2 separate regions of the Homo sapiens genome follow, and region 1 is linked to region 2. Evidence: promoter capture Hi-C in 16 types of primary human blood cells and fetal thymus (Javierre and others, 2016). All regions are on one chromosome and are shown on one strand. Each heading gives the region's core, a stretch centred on a gene start or on the middle of the fragment in contact. The rest is flanking DNA. Distances are from core to core; before and after follow the strand shown. Region 1 has its middle 25 kb from the start of SCMH1-DT. Region 2 holds the start of FOXO6-AS1 (FOXO6 antisense RNA 1).

What was found. Contacts are between HindIII fragments. The CHiCAGO score rates a contact against its expected background, and 5 or more counts as called.
Region 1: a fragment that was not itself captured here is called in contact with the fragment with the promoter of FOXO6-AS1 in region 2 in 1 of 17 cell types (monocytes); the score reaches 6.6 in monocytes.

The regions. Positions count from the first base shown.
Region 1 is chr1:41,266,024-41,269,656 of GRCh38, reverse strand. No RefSeq gene overlaps it. Among named protein-coding and RNA genes, the nearest start is that of SCMH1-DT, 25 kb to the right of the region's middle. RefSeq lists an enhancer at 1,146-1,440. The HindIII fragment of the contact is 2,406 bases long and covers 545-2,950 here.
Region 2 is chr1:41,373,409-41,377,216 of GRCh38, reverse strand. It overlaps FOXO6-AS1 (FOXO6 antisense RNA 1), which reads left to right and starts at 1,548. Exons shown (of 2, transcript NR_135817.1): 1 at 1,548-1,692; 2 at 1,965-2,213. All of the region lies in intron 1 of FOXO6 (forkhead box O6), which reads right to left. The HindIII fragment of the contact is 10,680 bases long and covers 1-3,808 here.

The sequences.
Region 1 (3,633 bases), core at 498-2,997, 110 kb after region 2:
CCAGCAAATATGTATTAAGTGCTTTCTTTGAGTCAGGTCTGTTCTAGGGATGGCCATCCAGTCCTGACCTAGACAAATAAGTTTAAATGTCTATCATTTATTATTAAATAGAGATTGAGGCCCTTAGAGAAAAAATACAGCAGAGCAAGGAATAAAAGTGATGGAGGGTGGGAGTGGGTAGGATGTCTTAGGGAAGATGCTCAGGGGAGGCCTCTCTGTAACATTTGAGCTGAGACCTGAATGAAGTGACGCAGCAAGTTATGCACATTTTTGGGGAAGAGCATCCCAAACAGAGGAAAGCAAGTGCCAAGGCCCCGAGGTGGAAATGTACTTGTTATGTTCAAGAAACAGCAAGAAGGCCAGTGATCCAGCAGAGTGAACAGGGGTAGCAGAATAAGCGGGTTGTCTGGAGAAGGCGTCTGAGGCCAGATCTTATGTGTGGAGCCTTGGTGCAGCAGTGCGTTGGTGTCAACTCAGACTGGCTCTGTCTCGATTCTTTACATCCCTTCTCAACTCTGAGCTCAGTGATGTTACCTTGGAAGCTTGAAATTGGCCATGGAGGGAGAATATGCACCACAATTAGCAAATGCTACATATCAGGGCTCTCTGCCTCTGAGAACTGGTTGTTACCAGCACAGCACCGCTCATAGCTGTGGTGAGAAATTCAGACATTGTTCAAATTGGAATCAGAAGCATTGGAGTGTTTTGAACGGCAAAAAGGCAGAATACTGCCACTTGGTTTCCTTCTCACAAGATCACTGTAGAGAACAGAGCCTAGGGTGCAAGAATGGAAGCAGGGAAATGGATTAGGAGGTTGTTGGAGTGGACTGGGTGAAAAAGGAATGGGGACAGTCTAGGAAGGCCATGAGGAGGAGGCAGTTTTAATCTGGTCTTCTATTTTCTGGTACGATCTCCCTTACATCCTGTTTAGCCTCTGTTGATAGACTGATTCCACTGGCTGGGAGGAGCATATTTTCCTGGAAAGAGCATGGGATTTAGAATCAGTGGGCCTGGATCTACTTCTCAATAGTATCCCTTGAGGAAATTATTTAACATCTTTTGAGTCACAGTGTCCTGTGTGTAAAACTGAATACCTGAAAAGGTGGCTGTGAAGACTAAATGAGATAAGGAGTGTAAAATTCCCATTTATCCTTTGGTGGGGCAGAGCGCCCTCATCCTCAGCCCACCAGGGTCCCTCATGTAGACTTCATGCCTAGAAGCAAAAAGAATGAAACTGCCAGGATCAGATTCCCCGGGGCTGGTCGCCGGTCTCTGCCTGTTCCCAGGTGGGCCACCAGCGCCACCTCGTGTCCAGTCTGGGTTCTTGCAGGCCAGCCTTTCCCTGGATGATTTCTTGATCCTGAATCACCTCCATTGCCAGATGGAGCCAACAGTGCATGAAGTGTCCTAACATTCATCGTCTGACCTGCCAACAAAGCATGCTCTCTGCTCTCCTCTGATCCTCCTCTGCATGTCAGTCTCACCTCCACATCCAGATTGTAGAGGGCACACGGCCTGTGTCTTCAGCGTCCATTCCTTTTACTTGAGTAATTACTTTGTGCCACTCATTCTGACATAATCCTTAAGGCAATTATATCCTTATTCCTTTTCTGGAGAAACTGAGGCCAAGACATAGAAAGTGACTTGCTTAAGGTCACTGGGCAAGCAATTGAGGTAAGATTTGATTCCAGGACTTCTCAATGTAAACCCAAGGTTTTTTTCCACAAAAACATCCAGCACAATGTGGGTACCCAGAAGATGCTCAGTGGATCATTTCATTTTTTAGGCTTTTTAAAAGAAGTGAGCAAAAATAACTGAACAGGAGCCAGGGGACCCACCCTCAGGACTCAGATTCAAGCTCTGTCTTTTACAACTTGCTGAATAACCTTGGCTGGATCTGGGTCACTCTGTGGCCTTCAGTACCGCATGAGGAAAGGAAAGGGATTAGACTAGGTGATCCCAAAGTTTCCCTCAGGTCCTGATGTTCAACAATTGCAAAGTTGAGGAGAGGGCTCTAGAAAGGGGTTAAGATTGTGGGCTCTGAGGCCACTGCTTGGGTGAGTCCAGGCTTCACAATAGCTATGAGGCCTTCAGCAAGTTATTTATCTCAGCCTCCGTTTCCTTGTCTGGAAAATGAGGATGATGAGAGTAATCATCTGTACCTCATAGTGTTGCTCAGTTATCTACTAGACCCTCTTAAAACTGTGCTTGGTACATGGTAGGTAATACATTTGTGTTCATTTTTCAAAAATATTGATTCTGGCTGGGCGTGGTGGCTCACTCCTGTAATCCCAGCACTTTGGGAGGCCAAAGAGGACAGATAACTTGAGGTCAAGAGTTCAAGACCAGCCTGATCAATATGGTGAAACCCCGCCCCTACTAAAAATACAAAAATTAACTGGGTGTGGTGGCACGCACCTGTGGTCCCAGCTACTTGGGAGGCTGAGGCATGAGCTCACTTGAACCCAGGAGGCGGAGGTTGCACTGAGCTGAGATCACACCACTGCACTCCAGCCTGGGTGACAGAGTGAGACTCTGTCTCAAAAAATAAATAAACAAATAAATAAATAAAAATAAAAATTCTACCTGCTACCTAATTCTATTTGTTTCAGGTAACATAAAAGTCTTGTGCATTACAAGGTTGGCCACTGGTTAATTCCTGCAAGCTCCTGGACAGTCATGCATCTAGCCACAGATAAGGTCATGTGTTTGATTCCACATAGTATCATCTGGATTACAACATAAATAAAACCTGAAAGTCTTAAGCCAAAATGAGGATCAAAGACCATTGTGTTCTCCTAAATTCCATCATTCAAGATATCCTGGAAATTTCTAAGACTTGGATCCTAAACCAGGCCACTCTGAGCCTCAGTTTTCTCACTTGCAAAACTGGGAATTGGACTGGCTATTTATGAAAGCTGCTATTATGGGCCCGGCACTGTGATAAGCTTTCACACAGCGAAATCAGAGTATAGTGTGCACTGACAAAGGGACAAGGGACCCCTGCCCTCTGATTTGGGTCACTGTACTTCAGGAACTGAGGTTGGGCAGTGGAATGGTGCATCCTCTCTATCCTGTTCCTTGGGATATCTTCCTAAACGGGTAAGTGGGGAGCCTGGAGACCTTGCTAGGTGATGGGACAAATCCCTTCTCCTCTGAGAATCACAGGCCTCTAGGGCAGCCCAGCCCAGCCCAGCCCAGCAGGACTTTCTAGGGTGATGGAGGTATTCAATATCTGTGCTGTCCAATATTGCAGCCACTAGTCACCAGTAGCTTCTGAGCACTGGAAACATGGCTAGTGCAATTGAGGAACAGAATTTTAAATGTATTTACTTTTAGTTAATTTAAATTTACATAGACCGTTGTGGCTACTGGCTATTCTATCGGATAGAGCAGCTCTGAGATATTTGGCTTTGAGAGCATCCTCCTGGAGAGATGAGGTAATTGAGACACAATTGGACTGAGTGGTTTGCTTAAAGGTTTTCAGTGACTCTGTGACAGAATTGAAACCAGAACCTAGGTCCTTCTTATTCCATAACAGGCCTTTTTCCTCACATCACTGCTAGATGTGGAGACATCTAACATTGCTCTACAATAGCACCACACTTTTCTACAGGTAAGTAGTTAACCTTG
Region 2 (3,808 bases), core at 299-2,798:
AGAGTGACCCTTCAAATAACCGAGATCACGTCCATTCCTGCCCAGATCCCTCCGACACCCTCCATCTCACTCACAGTGAGGAACAAAGGCCTTGCCATGGCCCACAAGACCCACAGTGACCATGCAGGTACCCCGCTCCATCCCTCCCTCCCATCCTCAAACCTGCCAGGCATGGTCCCGCCTGCCCCCAGATATCCACAGAGATCGCTCCTCTCCTTCCAGTCTTTGTTCAGATGCCATCTCTTGGAACGGGGCCCATCCTGACCTCTCTTAAAAACTGTTCCTCTTCCCTGGAATTTCTTGGCCCCCTGATCCTGCTCTATGTTTTTCTAAAGCATTTTCACATTCTAAATTAATACATTATTTATCCTATCTTTATATTAGAATATAAGTTTCATGAGGGCAGTGATTTTTATCCTTTTTAAAACTGTACCTCATGTGTTTGGTACATACTAGACACTTAAATGTTTGTCAAATGAATGAATGGATGAATGAATAAGAGAAAGTGTGTATGTGCAAGGAGGAGTAATACTGTGTTGTAGGGAGATTAAATAAGACTGGGCAGAGTGGCTGACACATAATAGGGGCTTTTCCAAACTGGGCAGAAAGAAGACACAGGCAGGATGAGAAGCAGGCAGTGGGGTGAGAATGTCCGAAGCAGTCTGACCCACTGAGGGGTGCCAGGGAGAGGAGTAGGGCATCCATTGGGGGTGAAGGAGAGGTCCCACGGTGCACAATGCAGCTGCCTGCCCTCCCCAGCCCCCCACCCTGCTCCCCAGAGAGACTTGGATAACCCAGGGCTGGCACACACCGAGGTCTCCCCTGGGCCAGAAGACGCTCCAGGAGCCCCAGTGGGAACAGGATAACCTCGTCGTTGCTGATGGTGCCTCCCTCATGGACAGGGTCTGATCCATTTGGTGGTGGCAGCTCATCTATCCAGCAGGACACCCTCATCTATTCCCAGGATGCCCTTCACCCACGAGCAGTAATGCATTCACCTGACAGCACAACCCCATTTATCCAGCACACCAGTCCCATTTATCCAGCAAGTACAACCTCATTTGCTAACAGCACTCCATTCACCTGACGGGCCCCCTCATTTATCCAGCAGGACACCCTCATTTATCCTCTGAGTCGGACACTCTCCTTCCTCCTGTGGTGTGGCTGTGTTCTCTGATGGAGCAAAAGCCGACTGATCCAGCAGGACGTCATCTCTACTACAAGTACACTTCATCCCCTGACAGTACAACCTCATTTATCTAATAATGCAGCCTCACCTTGCCCCCAAGTACCACCTCATTCCCTGACAGCACAACCTCGTTGATCTTCCGGTACAACCTCATTTCTTCTCCCAACACAGCTTCATTCTCCAACAGCTCAACCTCATCTAATCTTATGCCTCCAGCCAGGGCCTGCCAGATCTCCGGGAGCCAAAGGAGAGTGTAGAGAAAAGAGAGGTCCCTCATTTGCTGTCCCCCACCCACAAGGGCTGCCTGGTGCTATAACCATCCAATTTCTCCAGGCCCAGAAGGGGCCATGGACTTTGAGTTCTAGGCTGCTTGGCCAAGCCAGAACTCCACTATTGCCCTGCCTCCTGTTCTGTCCCCACCATGGCTACAGAGGGCCCACAGGATGGATTCTGGGACATGGACTCATGGTTGCTGTACCATCTTCTTATTTATTTATAGCCAGGTTCGTTCATTCTTTCTTTTCTTTTCTTTTCCTCTTTCTTTCTTTCTTTCTTTCTTTCTTTCTTTCTTTCTTTCTTGCCAGGGTATTTATTTATTTATTTATTTAGAGCCAGGGCCTCCCTCTGTCACCCAGGCTGGAGTGCAGTGGTGCAATTATAGCTCATGGTACCCTTGACCTCCTGGGCTCAAGTGATCCTCCCGCCCTACCCTCCCGAGTAGCTGGGACCACAGGTGTGCGCTACCACACTCGGCTAATTTTTATATTTTTTGTAGAGAGGAGGATTTCTTATGTTGCCCACGTTGGTTTCAAACTCCTGACCTCAAGTGATCTTCCTGCCTCGGCCTCCCAAAGTGCTGGGATTACAGGTGTGAGCCAACTTGCCTGGCCATCTCTGTGCCATCTTCTTCTGATCCTGGGCAGTGGGACTAGGGGAAGTTACCTTTTCTGGGGCACATTTAGTGGTGTGCTGGCAAATGTTTAACCACCAGCTCTTCTGGAAGTTAAAAAAAAAACCTACCTGATTTGATTTGTAGCTGTTGCTGCTTTCTGTGGTACGGATACTCACATCATAGCCAATTTTAAACTGCCACATGACGTCACCGAGTGCAGAATTGGGAAGAAGTGTGCACGATCAGCCCTCATGAGCCAGTGCAAACCAGCTCTCGCACACCACTGGCATGTGCTTCAAATGCTGAAGCCAGAGAAGGGCACCACCTACTACATGCCTAACATAGGCTAGGCTCCTTTAATCCTGATAACCATCCTGTGAGTAGGTACTGCGATTTTACAAAGGGGGCAAACTGAAGCTCAGGTGGGTTAAATGACTCCTGAGGCCACAAAGCTGGGAAATGACGGAGCCAGGCTTGGGTCTTAGGGCTGCTGGATTCCAAAGCCAGAGCTCTCCCACACCTACCCCTAATGTGGCAGGGGACACTCTGCTGTCCACCCCAGTGGCCATCTCCACCTTGACGCTCAAGCCCAAGCTCTCCTAGCTTTCATCAGAGACAGGGGACAAGGACTGTGCCCCCACCTACCACCAACCCTGTGCTACCTCCTGGCCTCCCTGGTACCTGGGGTCTTTCAGGATCCAAGTGCGGCCCTGCATCTTGTGTCCACCCATCACAGCCCAAGCCCAAGGTCAGGTGTGGATGCCTGTCCAGGTTGCATCACAGTCAAAGGCTCAGCCCAGCCCCTCCCTCAGGAGACTGACCCTGACTACCTGATGGGGAAAATGACCCAGCACCTGTTACTGCAGTGACCTCCTGTGGGGCTGTGGTGAGGGCTCTGATCCCCTCTATGATTCCCATTTCCTCCTTCCCTCCTGGCCTTCCTTCCTGCATACGGAGAGGTCAAAGACAGGAGACTGAATCCCAACTTCATCCATGTGACAGTGGGCCTCCACTATAACGAAGATAACAATCCCAGCATCCACAGGGACATATGGGACCTGGATGAAACCTCACATGTCAAGAATGTCATCCCATCCCTGTCTCAGAGCCCCAGGAGCCTCCCCATCCTACCCCTTGCCCCCACCCAACTCTGGGGCCCCAGCCTGGCCTAGGAACACACACCTGTGTCAGACAGAGCCACAGACACCCTGAGAGTCACTTGCCCTGCCATCTGGGGTGAAGTTCAGGTTCTCAGTCCAGGCCTCTTCCTGGCAAAAGATGTGACCTGGATGATGCCAGGGACCCGAGGCCATGTGCAAATCCTCGGCACTAGGGTCTGCAGTGGAGAAGGGATAGAAGGGCAGCTGGGGACCATGGGACACAGATGTCTCCAGGTGAGTGGGCTCAGGATCAGCAGCGGATCCTAGAGTGGGCAGCCTGGGGCCAGGAGGAACCAATATCCAAAGGAAGGCATGAGGCTCTGGCACCCCCCAGAGAAAGCAGAGCCCACACACCCAGGCTCGGCAGCAAATAAACCACCAACGAAAGTCCAACCTCACACTGCTCCAATGCCCATTCGTCCTTGTCACCTGCGGGCTTGGGTCCAAAACCAGGCTGATACTAAAGAGCCCTCTGATGTCCTCCAGCCTCATCGCCCCCTTCCCTTAGGGCCATCTGGGCCTCCAACCACCTTGGATGTCCCCATCCCTGTGCCTTTGCACACTGTT